Regions from separate parts of the Homo sapiens genome. Here all the other regions are linked to region 1. Evidence: promoter capture Hi-C in 16 types of primary human blood cells and fetal thymus (Javierre and others, 2016). All regions are on one chromosome and are shown on one strand. Each heading gives the region's core, a stretch centred on a gene start or on the middle of the fragment in contact. The rest is flanking DNA. Distances are from core to core; before and after follow the strand shown. Region 1 holds the start of OR2V1 (olfactory receptor family 2 subfamily V member 1). Region 2 holds the start of FLT4 (fms related receptor tyrosine kinase 4). Region 3 overlaps MGAT1 (alpha-1,3-mannosyl-glycoprotein 2-beta-N-acetylglucosaminyltransferase).

Evidence for each region. Contacts are between HindIII fragments. The CHiCAGO score rates a contact against its expected background, and 5 or more counts as called.
Region 2: the fragment with the promoter of FLT4 here is called in contact with the fragment with the promoter of OR2V1 in region 1 in 2 of 17 cell types (neutrophils and monocytes); the score reaches 5.6 in neutrophils.
Region 3: a fragment that was not itself captured here is called in contact with the fragment with the promoter of OR2V1 in region 1 in 1 of 17 cell types (total B cells); the score reaches 8.9 in total B cells.

The regions. Positions count from the first base shown.
Region 1 is chr5:181,128,345-181,132,997 of GRCh38, reverse strand. It overlaps OR2V1 (olfactory receptor family 2 subfamily V member 1), which reads left to right and starts at 1,829. Exons shown (of 4, transcript NM_001258283.2): 1 at 1,829-1,948; 2 at 2,783-2,825; 3 at 3,423-3,478. RefSeq lists an enhancer at 2,542-3,043. The HindIII fragment of the contact is 15,941 bases long and covers 1-4,653 here.
Region 2 is chr5:180,647,282-180,651,934 of GRCh38, reverse strand. FLT4 (fms related receptor tyrosine kinase 4) reads left to right here and starts at 2,335. Exons shown (of 30, transcript NM_182925.5): 1 at 2,335-2,447. The coding sequence starts at 2,390. The HindIII fragment of the contact is 6,264 bases long and covers 1-3,527 here.
Region 3 is chr5:180,781,835-180,786,487 of GRCh38, reverse strand. MGAT1 (alpha-1,3-mannosyl-glycoprotein 2-beta-N-acetylglucosaminyltransferase) reads left to right here. Exons shown (of 2, transcript NM_002406.4): 2 at 1-1,708. Among named protein-coding and RNA genes, the nearest start is that of MGAT1, 19 kb to the left of the region's middle. RefSeq lists enhancers at 1-541, 542-1,453. The HindIII fragment of the contact is 1,243 bases long and covers 1,757-2,999 here.

The DNA of each region.
Region 1 (4,653 bases), core at 580-3,079:
CTCCTGAAGATCCCTCCAGTGTAGAAGAAGAAACACTTGATGTTCTTTTTACAGTCGTACGGCACTCTGTTATGTGGATACATTACAGTTTACTCAACCAGTGTGGAGTGACCTTCCAGGTTCTTGTTATAGAGCATTTTAGACACACCTAAAACCTGGAAGCATCGTATAATGAACTTCTCTGCACTCACCACCCGGTGCTGGCAATTGGCAGCTCAGGGTCAACACCGTTCCGTCTACTCCCCACCCACCTCTCCCTCTCCCCTTCACAACTGGATTATCTACAAATAAGTTTCAGAAATCACATAGTTTCCTCAGTAAATACATCAGTAAGTTTCTCTAAAATATCAAGAATAAAACATAATAATAGGATGAGCATTTAAGAAGAATTCTTAACAGAGAAACATCAATAATGACATTTCCTGGACATTTATGTGACAGCTGCTGCTTTCATTTTAGTACAAAAATTAGGGGAGGTTGAAAATTTGAATGTCCTAGACAATAATTTTTTTTTTTGAGACAGGGTCTGGCTCTGTTGCCCAGGCTGAAGTGCAGGGGTGTGATCTCAGCTCACTGCAGCCCTGACCTCATGGGCTTAAATGATCCTCCCACCTCAGCCTCCAGAGTAGCTGGGACCACAGACACGCACCACCGTGCCAGATTAAACATTTTTAAATTAAGATACTCATGTAAAAGACAGTGCTTCTATTTATGCAGGGCAGTTCTCCAAATAAATCAGTTCAGACATCCTAGTAACTTATTTGAGAAAAACGGACATTTCAAAGAGTATCCCCACCTCCCTTAAAATCTGAAAGGACACATAATATGATTGCTGTTAGCAGACTCTTCTCCCTTCTCTACTGTGGGACTCCAAGCCCCAAGTTAGTCTTGATTTAGGCTGTGTCAAGGGGACCAACACTGAATTGAATGTGAGATTCAAATTTTGATTTTCAATGGACTGGATTTTAGAATATATAAATGAGCCTTCGTCTTACCACCCAAAGTCACCAGAAAACTCTTGATCTGCATGAGATGTCATGAAGATGTGGAGAATGAATTGTGATGTCTTATTTAAAAGCAGTGGCTGTACAAAAATAAAAGTGTTTCCTTGTTTGCACATGATCAAAAGTTCCCCCTGAATAATACGATAAAAGGCAATACAAGAGCTGTCAGCAGGCCATGGACATACGCTGCCAGAGTGTAGACAGGAAGCCATGGCCGGCGGAGGTCATGGTGGATTGAGTTCCGGAGGAATCTGAATGGAGGTGGGCTTGAGCTCGGTCTTGGGGAATTAGATAAGGCTGAAGAGTAACAGAGGAAGAAGACAGAGGAAGTGCCGGTGGGGAGAAGTGGCTGGAGAAAAAGTGTGAGTGTGGAAAGCGTTGGGTGCATAGGAGGATAGAGGAGAAGGCCGGTGTGGGAGAGGAGTGGGAGACGCTGCAGGTCCAGTCCTCAAAAGCCAGCCTGCCCCACTCCAGCTGCGAGGTGGCCATTCCCTTCCTCCCTAGTCTACCTCTCTCTGCCCCGGTCTTCCTGTGTCTCCCTCATGGCCTCCTCGCCTGCATGTTCCTCAGACTCCTGCCATAGCTGGAAGCTGGATCAGGAAGAGGGCACACACCAAAAGTGTGGTAGCAAAGACACACAAGGAAGTCGAGATTCAGAAGGAACAAACGCCTCTGGTGTCTGAGCCATGTGGCAAGGGGATTTCAAGCACATTGGCCCCTGAGAAAATGGCCTGCTTCCATGGGACATAAATAGCCACAGAGTGACCATAAAATGCATCCTCCGATGTGAAATGCTCTTGAGAGTAAAAGGCAGTGGCAGCATCAGAACCGTGGACTTCAGCCCCATCCCCAGCAGCCCACGAAGACACTGACCCTGCAGAAACGCCTGTCAGGTTTATGAGGATCCCAACCAGGCCCCCAGGCTCCACCCGACTCTCGTGAAGGTGGGGCTGTTCTTTCCCTCCCACGAGGCTGTAGACCCCTTGAGCAAGGACTGTGTCCAGAGCCCCCCACCCAGTGCTTTGCATGTCACGGGTGATGTAGGCTGACTTAATGGGGGCAGGTGAAGGACAGGTGTGGGGTGCAGCGAGGGCCCAAGGGACAGCTGTGACATGGAGACCCCATGAGGGCCCTGGAGGTCGCTGGGAAGTGCTGATGTGTGTGTGGGGGGGCAATGTAGGGCACCAAGAATGTCCTCCGCATTCCTGTATTCCTCTGCCCTGCGTTCCTCCTCCCCCAGCTGGGTTTCCTCACGCTGTCCCCACTGGCCCTGCTCCTGTTCCTGTCCCCAGGTCCCTCTGTGGGTCTTTTTAATTGTAATCTTGGGAGCACCTCTTCCAGGGCTGGAGTCTGTGGGGTCCCCTGGGAGCTGAGGTCTGAAGTCAGCTTCCCCTCTTCACCCCGTGTCTGGGTTCAGTACCTGTGTGGGCAGTGGGAGGCGGTTCTGCCACCTGGCCAGAGCCAGGGTGTCCTGGAGGCAGGTGGGAATCCTGGGTGGGCTCAGGGCACTGCTCCTGGCTCCACCTCTCCTGCCAGCACCAGCTCCTTCCCTGAGCCTGTTTCTCCCTCTGAGAGGAGGCTGTGGTCTGTGTGAGCCTTGCTCTCTGAGCCTGAGGGGCCACTGGAGGCTGAGGGTGCCGTGGGCTCCACAACCCGATGAGTAGTCGGTGCGGGCTGAGGAAGGAGGTTGGGGCTGCGGCTCCTCCTGTCCCCCGACCCAGTGGGAGCAAACACAGGAGGATGAGTGCATGGCTCTGACGCTAGGAACTCCTCCACAGGTGACTCTGCTGAGTTTGTTCCCCTGCAGGGACCCACCCACAGGTGAGTGAGGGTCTTGTCCTGTCGTCCCCTCTCTCTTCCCTGCAGCTCCTGCTCCCATTGCTGGTTCACGTCCCCATTTATCTTGTTCATCAGCACTTGCTCTTCCTCCTGCTGTCTGCCTCCATCAGGGTGTAACTGTTTCGTGTGGGTGTTTGGAGGGGCATCCGTCTTCTGGTGTGATGTTTCTCCTCACTCTTTCTTCTCGTTCTCTTCCTTTGACCCACCTCTCTCTCTTTCCTTGGTGTCCTACTCCCCTTTTCCCGTCCCCCTCCCTCTGTCTGGGTTGGAGACTGGGCTCTAGGTCCCTGGGGTGGAGGATGGTCCACAGCAGGAAGACAAGGACAGATGTGTGGGGAGTGCGAAGGTGAAGGAGCAGGAAGGAGGGGGCTGATGTGGGACGGGGTCCTCCCGTGCCGGGGAGAATATTGCAGAGATGCAGTGGCTTCTTCTATGTTGTGGTTTCTAGGAAGAAAAGTGAAGCCATTAACTAAACACCCAACGGAAAGGTCTGAAATTAGAGAGCAGGAAGATAAGCCAGTGAGAGGCAAGAATAAATTCTGTTGTGTTTCATAATACAATTTTTTTTTTCTGAGACAGGATCTTGCCGTCTGTGTCCTGAGAGGCACAAGTGGCTGGTGCCTCTGAACATGGTGGTAAGGCTGGGAGACCGTTCTTCTGCTGGGGCATCTGGTGTATTTTGCTGGTTGATATGGCTGAGAGGGTGCTTGGTCGCTGTGGGAACAGATTTGCTCCTGTAGAAACCCCCTCCAAATCACACAATGTCATAGCTCTATCATTCAGGCTGGAGTGCAGTGGTGTGATCGTAGCTCACTGCAGCCTCAAATTCCTAGGCTCAAGTGATCTGCCTCAGTCTTCCAAGTAACTGGAACTACAGGTGCACACCACCACGCCCAGGTAATGTTTTATTTTATTTTTATTTTGGAGACAAAGCTCGCTCTGTCACCCAGGCTGGAGTGCAGTGGCGTGAACATAGATCACTGCCAGCTTGAACTTTCAGGCTCAAACGATCCTTCCACCTCAGCCACCTGAGTAGCTGGGACTACAGATGTGTGCCACAATAGCCTGGCTAATTTTCTCTGTTTTTTGAATAGAGATGAGGTCTCGTTTATGTTGCCCAGGCTGGTCTCAAACTCCTACCTCGAGCTATCCTTCTGCCTCAGCCTTTCAAAGTTTTGGAATTACAGGTGTGAGCCAGGGTACTTGGCCAACAAAATTTTTATGCATTCAACAAATATTGACTGAGCTCATAACAGATGTGCCAGACCCTGTTCCGGGAGCCAGGGATCCCACCACGAGCACCCGTGGCACCGGGGAACACGGGTTCTAGTTGGGAAAGCAGAGAACAGACACCCACATGAGCAGCCTGGGGCCTGCCTTGCATATATGCCTGCTGTGGGAACCAAGGCAGGGAAGGGAGGCAGAAGAAGAAGGATTTCAGCTCTAAATGGGTGCTGAGGGAAGGCTTTGCTGAGAAGGCGAGGAGGAGGTGAGGGAGCAAGGCAGGGCCAGTCTGGGAAGAGCCTTCTGCACGGAGGTGAGAGAAAGTGTCCAGGCCCCCTGGAGCTGGCCTTGTCCTGCCGTGTGGGAGCAGCTCCAGGAGGCAGGGAGACCGGCATGGAGGGAATCCCGGGAGAGTGGAAGGAAAGGCGTGGGTGGTGGTGGAGGGCTGCTGATGAGTCTTGCATTTCCTCTGGAAGTACTTTGGCTTTATTCCTGCAGAGATGGGTCCACCCCAGGACTACGTGACAAATAGACCAGGTTGGGCTGGGGTGTGCCAGCGTAGACTGGGAGGCAAATGCAGTTGGGG
Region 2 (4,653 bases), core at 1,086-3,585, 480 kb after region 1:
TATGAAGGCACTGAGATAAAGTGGAAAAAAAAAACAACAAGCAAAATGTGAGCTAAACTGTAGGGACACAAACACACAGAGAGGAGTAATAGACACTGGAGACTCCAAAAGCAGGGAGGGAGGGCAAGAGGTAAGGACTGAAAAATCACCTTTTGGGTAGAGTGTCCACTGTACAGGTGACGCGTACACTAAAAGCCCAGACTTCACCTGTACACAATATATGAATTAAGAAATCTGCACTTATGTCCTCTAAGTATACTTTAAAATTTTAAAAGCACATTCTGGCTGGATGCGGCGGCTCATCCCTGTCATCCCAGCATTCTGGGAGGCTGAGGCAGGTGGATCACTTGAGCCCAGGAGTTCAAGACCAGCTTGGGCAACGTGGCGAAAACCCAGCTATGCAAAAAAGTCACTGGGTGTGGTGGCGCACATCTGTGGTCCCAGCTACTTGGGAGGCTGAGGTGGGAGGATCATTTGAGCCCGGGGGGTGCTGAGGCTGCGGTGAGCAGATATCATGTCACTGCACTCCAGCCTGGGTGACAAAGTGAGACCCTGTCTAAAACAACAACAACAACAAAAAAAAAACAAGTATATTCTGGGCGGGGCACAGTGGCTCATGCCTATAATCCCAGCACTTTGGGAGGCTGAGGTTGGCAGATCAGGAAGTCAGGAGTTTGAGACCAGCCTGGTCAACATGGTTAAACCCCCATCTCTACTAAAAATACAAAAATTAGCCGGGCATGGTGCCGGGTGCCTGGAATCACAGCTACTCAGGAGGCTGAGGCGGGAGAATTGCTTGACCCCAGGAGGCAGAGGTTGCATTGCAGTGCAGTGAGATCGTCCCACTGCACTCCAGCCTGGGCAACAAAAGAGAGACTTTGAGAAAAAAAAAAAAAAGTACATTCTGAAAAAAAAAGCAAAACATATATTTTGATGATAAAATGATAAACAAAAGCAGGGAAATGATAATGCCAGGGTAGTGGGCATCTTCTGGGGTTGGTGAGGGGTTTGTGATGGGAAGTGAGGGGATGTGGGGATGTCATTCTACATCCCTTGGCCTGGAGAATGGAAACACAGGTATTTGTTGCTTTAAAATTCAGGTTTATAATATGCTGATATATTATGTACTTTCCATAAGTGTGTTACATCTCATAATCTTTCAAAGCTAAAAAAAATCAATATATGATTGATAAATACCTAACTTCATGTATCGCTTGGTTACCTAGTTTCCCCAACCTTATTTGTTAAATTATCTACACTATCCGCACTGATTTGTGATTCCAGCTTAATAATATAGCCACTTCTTACCTGGATTGGAGAGAGCTGGTAGTGGTTATTGAAAATCTACTCTTGCTTTTTGGCGAGGATGAAAGGGCTTTGGGGGGCGGGGGTGGGGGGATGGAAAATGTGAATGAAACGAAAAGCAGGGAAGGAGGTTGAGACAGTCATGGTCATGGGCTTCATTATTAAACAGGAAAATTCTAGAGACAAACTGAAAAGAGAACGGAAGTCTGTAAGAGGGTTGCCAAGTCAGAAAGCAAAAGCAAAGTGTCGCTTTATTAAAAAGGTGGGGGCGGGTCCTGATTGAGCTGAGAACAAAACATCTGGGGGAGTTCTAAAGCTAGGAGGCCAGGCCTGCAGGGAGGGGGTCGGTCATCCCGGGTGTCCCGCTCACGGGTGCGGCTTCCGTCGACACTGTCCGTCGACACTGTGCAGGTAAACACTGCTGAACGGGTTTTGTTTTTGCTTTTTTTTTTTTTTTTTTGGCTCCCAGACTGGAGTGCAGTGGCGCGATCTCGGCTCACTGCAACCTCCTTCTCCCGGGTTCAAGCGATTCTCCTGCCTCAGCCCCCCCGAGAAGCTGGGATTACAGGCGCGCACAACCAAGCTCGGCGTATTATTTTATTTATTTGCTTGTTTATTTTTGAGACTGGGTCTCCCTATGTTACGCCGGCTGGTGCCACTATTTTCAAAGATGTAACATACTATTTTTACAAGGATTGCTTTCTTGTTTAGTCTAGATTTTACCGATGGAAAGAAAGGACGGAAAAGAGCGCGTGCCGCATTTTGCTCCCCTTTGCCCACCAGGCTCCATCACCTCCGGAGCGCATCGCGAGACCGTCTGCGTTACCCGCGTCCCCGCGCCCGGAGCCGCCCAGGAGGGGGCCCGGACCCTGTGGTGCGGAGCGCGCACTGCTCGGGTGCACCGGACGCCCCGCGGCGGGCTGGGAGGGACGGGGGGAGGGGGGCGCGGGGAGCGGCCTGAATCCCGGGCCCGCCTCCGGCCCCCGCCCCGCCCCGCCCCGCCCCAGGCCAGCCGGCGCCCGCGCGGACACTTTCAGCCCCGAGCCGCGGCCGCTCGGGTCGGACCCACGCGCAGCGGCCGGAGATGCAGCGGGGCGCCGCGCTGTGCCTGCGACTGTGGCTCTGCCTGGGACTCCTGGACGGTGAGCGCGGCGAACGGGCCACCCGCCCGAGCGTGGGGCTGGCCGGGGAGGGGGTACCGCGCACCTGGGGCGGGCGCTGAGACCGCTCCGCCGGGTACGGGCGGGGGACACGGTGGCCCTGGTGCGCGGACGCCTGAGGGGAGCACGGCGCTTGGGGCGCGGGACCTCGGGATGAGGAAGGGGCGGGCGGGGACCGCAGCCGGGTCAGGGCCAGGGCGGCCGGGCCGCGCCTCGGCGCAGGGGTAGCTCTCCCGGCCCCTGAATCCGCGTCTCCGTCGGTGGCTCCGCGTCCTCGGAGCCGGGCCCTGCCGGGCTGCGCGCTGAGCCCGGATCCTTCGCGCCCTTACTCGCTTCCCCGCGGGGTCCCCGCGCCGCGCCGTCCCGACCCACGCGCGCCGGAGATCCATCCCGGCCGGGCCCCGGACTTGGGTGCGCACTTCCCGACGCCCAGCGCCTCCGCTCGCGGTCGGTCCCCCAGAGGGCGCTCGAGGCGGGCTTCCCCCTCCCCGTGGCCGGCGACGGCGGGGACAGGGGCCGGGGACCACCGCGCGCCCGAGGCGGACGGGTGCAGGTGCACGCTGGCACTTGAGACGAATCTTGAGGAGGCGAATCGCGGGCTGTCAGCGCCGCAGAAGGGGCGGAAGGCCAGGGGTCCCCGGATTTGAGGGGACAGGGGCCTCGAAGGCCAGCTGAGGAGCAGAGGCCCCCGCGGGAGGGTCCCCTGCACAGGAGAGGCGGGGTTCGGTTTGTGTTGGGATGTGGCTCTGGCGGGGAGAGACGCAGACCTGAAGCGGAGGCGGAGGGGTTGGAAAGAGGGACTGTGGGGGATGAGCGGGCGGCAGAGGGAGTGGATGGAGATGTCAGGGAGGAAGCTGAGAAGATGAGCTGGGAGTCCCCACGGAGCTGGTGTCCCTGGAAATCAAAGGGTGTAAGGGCGGGGTCAGGGGTTCCAGTGTCTGAAGCCCTGAAGTCAGCGACGGGGACCTCAACATTTCTGCACGCCATAGGAATTAAATACTGGCTTTACATGCTTGTAATTCTCACAGGGAGTGTCAGACCCATTTTACACATGGAGAAGCTTAGACCAAGGACATGTGTCACTTCCCCAAGGTCCCCAGGAGGCCCAAAGTAAGCCTGACAAAGCCTGCCTTTGCTCACCACCTGTATGTCCACTGGCTGAAGGGCAGAGGACAGGAGAGGGGGCAGGTCTGGCTCAACCAGGGGAGGAGGGAGGAGAACATCTATCTGGGCCTCCGAGTCGGGCAGGCCAGATCAGGGCGCTGCCCTTGGCCCTCCTGGACCCAGCCCAGGACCAGGCTCCCACAGGTGCTCAGGATGTATTTGTCGAGTGGCTGGTAGACCTTGGTTGGACTGCAGGGCTGTAGAATGGGAGACGCTTATCCTGGAGGAGACATGGGACAGGCACCTGGGCGCAGTGTCTGAGCTGGGCTGAGTAGCTGGAGAGGAAGAGAGAGACCCGGGAGGGGAACCCTGGAGGAGGGGCCCAGAGGGCAAGGGGGCTTCCAGGGATCCAGGGAACATTCTGCAGGTATAAGGAGAACCAGGAGAGGCCAGTGTCCTGGTGCTCCCGGGTGGAGCACAGAGGGACGTGGGGTGAAGGGTGAGGAAGCTATTCCCTGCAGTAAGTAGTGACTCTTAGTGACCCAGTTATGAAGAGGAGAGAGGGCATTAGTTGGGCGCCCCATGGAGAGGGGTGTCCTGGGCTGGACCTGGGTTTGGCTGGTGGGGAGATGGCAATGAAGACAGAGGTCATCCCTCCGTGAGCCCTGCACCTTGCTGTACCCCCTGCTAGGCTGAAGACCCCGGGAGCCCCCAGCTTGATGGGGGATGCCATGGCGGAAGCACAAGCCCTCAGCTGCAGTCGGGTGTCAGGGCAGCTGGTCCGGTGGGAGCTGCAGTCGGGTGTCAGGGCAGCTGGTCCGGTGGGAGCAGGCCAGAAGCCTGAGCATCCTGAAGCTGACCCCTTAAAAGTGTGCTATTGATCATAGAACCAGACTCTTGTCCTGCCTCTGCCGTAAAGTCCTTTCTGTGTGACCTGGGCCCCCTCCTTTCCCCTCCCTGCACCTCAGTTTCCCCAAGCATAGCCATGGCACAAGCATAGCCATGGCACAAGCATAGCCATGGCACAAGCTGGCAAGCCCCGAGGTTGTGTGGGTTGTGTGTGCTTGGGCTGGACTCCAAGACC
Region 3 (4,653 bases), core at 1,129-3,628, 350 kb after region 1:
ATTAAGATTCCTGTTACTAAGAAGGGAGTGATTGTATGGGCGACTACAGGGACCACGGCCATACACGGTGCCTGGAAGACCAAGCTTGTGACAGTGACGAGGATTTGGAGAGGGCAGGGTGATGGGGAGCTTTGGGGGGAGTGCATTAGGAACCCTGACCTGGAGAGGGGCAGAATGAAACCTGCGGGCCCCTAACCCTAGTGGGTTGTTTGAGAAACCTGTCCTACTGTGGCAGGGGGCTGAGTCTTCTCAGGGTCATGCATGAAAACTGAAATTCCTGAAGGCCACACACAGCCCCGGAAGTGCTGACTGACAAGGGCACATGCCAGTGATGCAGTTTTCTTTTTTGTCTTCACTTTTGTTGTTCCGCCGTCTTCAACACATGGCTCCCAGCTCACAGCAAATGCTGCCCTGGTTCAGCTACCAGGAAGCAGGAGAGGGGAAGGGAGGGCAAGCCTCATTCTTTATGGAACAAAAGCAGTGGGCAGACAGCCTTCCCTCACGTTCCACTCACTGGAATGTGGTCTGGCTGCCTTCCCTGCAGGAGGTGGGATGCACCCTCAGTGCAGCAGCCCTGCCCCAGCCAAAAACGTCTCAGCACAGCTGTAAGAAGAGGAAGATGGCTAGAGACAGGCAGCCTTCCCTGCAAGGGCAATGAGGCAAGCCTGCCAAAAGCCTCCTTTGGAAATACTGTTTGATTACTTTTCAGAGTTTCTATTTAGGAAAAGGGCAAAACCTTTCAGGATCAGGAGTAGGTGAGCGGCGATCAGGCCTCACTCTTCACCGAGGGCCTTCCCTGAGGAGGGGCCTGCAGGACGCTGGCAGCGGAATGGGGCTGTGTGGCTGCTAGATTAGGTCATGGCAGGGAGACAGCCTCTTCCTGGTTCTTGCTAGAACAGGCACACTTGGGGCCTTGAGCTCCAGGGAGTTCATGGAAGACATCTGACTACCCTGAGCCCCTTGCTGGAGGGTTCTGGGGAGTGGCCCACGGCCACCGTCACCCATGGCCACCGTCACCCACAGGGGCCGTGAGGACATCCCTGGCCAGCATCTAACACAACCACATGGGATGCCCTAAGCAACTACTGCCCAGCCGAGGGCTGCCTGAATTTCTGACTCACAAATGGTGGGCAATGTGAAACGGGTATTTTAAGCTGCTGAGTTCTGCGGGAGTTTGCTGAGCAACAGTAGAAACCAGAACTCTCGGATACTGTGTTCTGTCCTTGAAACGGTGGAAGATTTTATGTGACCAGAATGGAATGTTTGAACAAATATTTTGAGAATAGAATTTTAAAACATTTACTCATCAGCATCCAAGGGTGGGGAGCAGTGTCATCTAGGAGACTGGTTCTATTATTTACGTAGATGTTCTTGAATTAAAGGATGGGAATATTTTTTCCTTCCAAAACTTTTTTTCAATTTTATATTCTGTTTTTCAAGTTTTTATTATGAAAATATTCAAACTCACAGGGAAGTTGAAAGACTAATACAAAGAAGAACCATACTCTTTCCACTGACATGATCCAACGAGGAATATTTTGCCACACGGCAAATATATACCGTATAATTTTCTGTACCACTTGATAGAAAGGTAAAGAATGAATATTGTTTTTTAAATAACTTTTTTCGTATATAAGTAATATGTGCTTATCGTGTAACTACCTAAAAACATTGAAAAATAAAAGGAAAATAAAATTCATACATAACCGCCCTGCCCAGATTAACTATCTTTGGTTCTTGGCTTGCTGAGCAAGCTTCTGACCTGAACTTGGTCTTCATTGGGCACGGCTGCCCTCTACTGACAGCTGGGAGTCCTCGGCCTCCTTATGAATGAATCAAGCCAGTTGGTTCTGAAACTGCAGAACAGAGCCTGATGGCCTCATACCTGGGTTTTTAAAAATCAAAATCTGGCCGGGTGCGGTGGCTCTCGCCTGTAATCCCAGCACTTTGGGAGGCTGAGGTGGGTGGATCACGAGGTCAGGAGATCGAGACCATCCTGGCTAACACGGTGAAACCCCGTCTCTACTAAAAATACAAAAAATTAGCTGGTCGTGGTGAAGGGCGCCTGTAGTCCCAGCTACTCGGGGGGCTGAGGCAGGAGAATGGGTGAACCCGGGAGGCGGAGCTTGCAGTGAGCCGAGATCACACCGCTGCACTCCAGCCTGGGAGACAGTGCGAGACTCCTCTCAAAAAAAAAAAATCAAAATCTTGGGTGAGGCCTCACCTGAAATATCAAGTGTGACTTCCCTGTCCTTGTCATATTGCTCCCTTGAATTGGAGCCTGCCCTGATGCCCGCCTGGCTCCAGGCCAAGCCCTAGCAGTTCTCCACCCCAGTTAGACAGCATGCAGCTGTGGTTCCAACGCCCCTCCCTCAGCTGAACCGATGCCCCTGATTCTCCCTAAATTCTCCTTTGTCCTTCAGTTCATCTTTCTTGTCCTTTTGCTCCAATCACATAGTGTGAGGGAAGACTCTCCTGAAACCATGTTTTCCCTCCGCTCTCACACTGCAACAATCATCTACACAGAAGAAGACTTCTGTGACCAAACGTGTGGGGACCTCTCCCCACTCCCAAGCGGTGGACGTCAGCCAGGTGTCCTCCAATCAGTTCCAACCCTGTCTACCTGGAGATAGTGCCAGATCCCACAGGTTGAGGGCTCCATCCCCAAGACTCATCCTTGCCCCACCCCACCAATCGAATGTTGGGGCCTCCAGAACTTCTGACCAACTGGGTTCAAGTTGGGGTTCCCACAACCCCCTCTTTGAGTTTGATTAATCTGGGGGAGTTGCTCACAGAGAATCAGTTTACTAAGAAGGATATTTTAAAGGATATGGATAATTAGCCAGACGAAGAGGTACATAGGGTGAGGCCTGGAAGCACAGGAGCTTCTGTTGCCGTGGAGCTGGGGTGCCCCACCCTCCCGGCATGTGGACGAGTTCTTCACCCTCCTGTCGGCCTCCACGTGTTCGGCCCAGTCCCCTTGGTTTTTTATGGAAGCTTCATGACTTTAGCATTCCTTCCCCCAGGGTATAGGATGGGACCCTCTCATGGGAGGGCCTTGAGTCCTGCCTCAGGGCAGTGGAAGGTCAGAGTCCTGCCCCTGAGGCCTGACTCACCCAACACTGTAACAAAAGACTGTAACAAGGGCTGTGGGAATTATGAGCCAGGAACCCTGGGTTGAAAACCAATACATAAACCAATATACGTACACATATTGTGAAGAGAAAATACAACTTGGGACCTCAAAATCACTAAGCCGAAGGGACAGATCAAGCTGGGAACTGTGTCACACAAACCTGCCTTCCATTCACAAATAAAAAAGCTACATGCCTCCCTCACAATTTGCCCTTGTGGGCAAGATCTTTACCCTAAAAGTGTTCTGTTGAATTCCACCCTGACAATGTAAATTGATAGTCTATCTTCGCAGTGATGGGACAAAGGAAAGAACTCAGCCATTTCTTTGCTCACCTGAGACAAATGCATATGTGATTGCTTCCTCTGCCCTACTTTATCTTATGTGAAAGTGCAGATTCACCCCAGCTAGCTGACTATTCCTTTGCCTCCCTTACATGTGGACGGCTGATCAAAGGCTCAAAAGAAGGCAACCACTTGCCTTTTATCTACCCACACCTTTTAAAAATGTCTTCCTCTTTCTGCAATACCTGCCCTTTTTCCTTTAAATATTGAAGCCCTCAAAATCATCTTTGGAGAAAGGCACAGACTTGGGTCCTGGGTGCATGTCCTTAACATTGGCAAAATAAACTTCTAAATTGACTGAGCTCTGTCTCAGATACTGTTTGGTTTACATGGTAACCATGAAGGGATTCTGAGTGGAGCTACCCCTGACCTTTGGCAAATCTCCTACGGGTACTTGGTGCCAGCTTGAGCTACCTTTATTGCTCAAATCAGTTGGACAATTTGCTGAGCCCTGGGAGCTCCTGTCTCCAGAGAATCCCTGATCTTCCAAAATCTGGTTGAGGTTTAAGGATTATTCTGCTGTGAAACTCTTTTTCTGGAGTTTTATTCACTTTCAACAAGGAGGGAGAGTTTTCCTGCTTCCATGATAATGGGGTGCAGGCAACTCCTTTGTGGAATTTCAGCCCACTTCCAACAGGGAAAGCAAGTTTGAGTTTTTTCCTACTTCTAGGATAGTAGTGTAGCAGGACCAGCCGCAGACAAAACTCCTCAGACACCGAGTTAAAGAAGGAAGGGGTTTATTCAGCCAGGAGCATTGGCAAGACTCCTGTCTGAAGAGCTGAGCTCCCCTAGTGAGCAATTCTTGTCCCTTTTAAGGGCTCACAACTCTAAGGGGGTCCACGTGAGAGGGTCGTGATCGATTGTGCAACCAGCGGGTACACGACTGGGGGCTGCATGCACCGGTAATCAGATTGGAACAGAACAGGACAAGGGTTTTCACAGTGCTTTTCCATACAATGTCTGGAATCTACAGATAACATAATCGAGTAGGCCGGGGCTCGATCTTTAACTACCAGGCCCGGGGTGTGGCGCCGGGCTGTCTGCTTGTGGATTTCATTTCTGCCTTTTCATTTTTACTTCTTCTTTCTTTGGAGGCAGAAATTGGGCATGAGACAATATGAGGGGTGGTCTTCTCCCTCAGTAGAGCACAGTCTTTAGCCAGGTCTCATTCCTAGG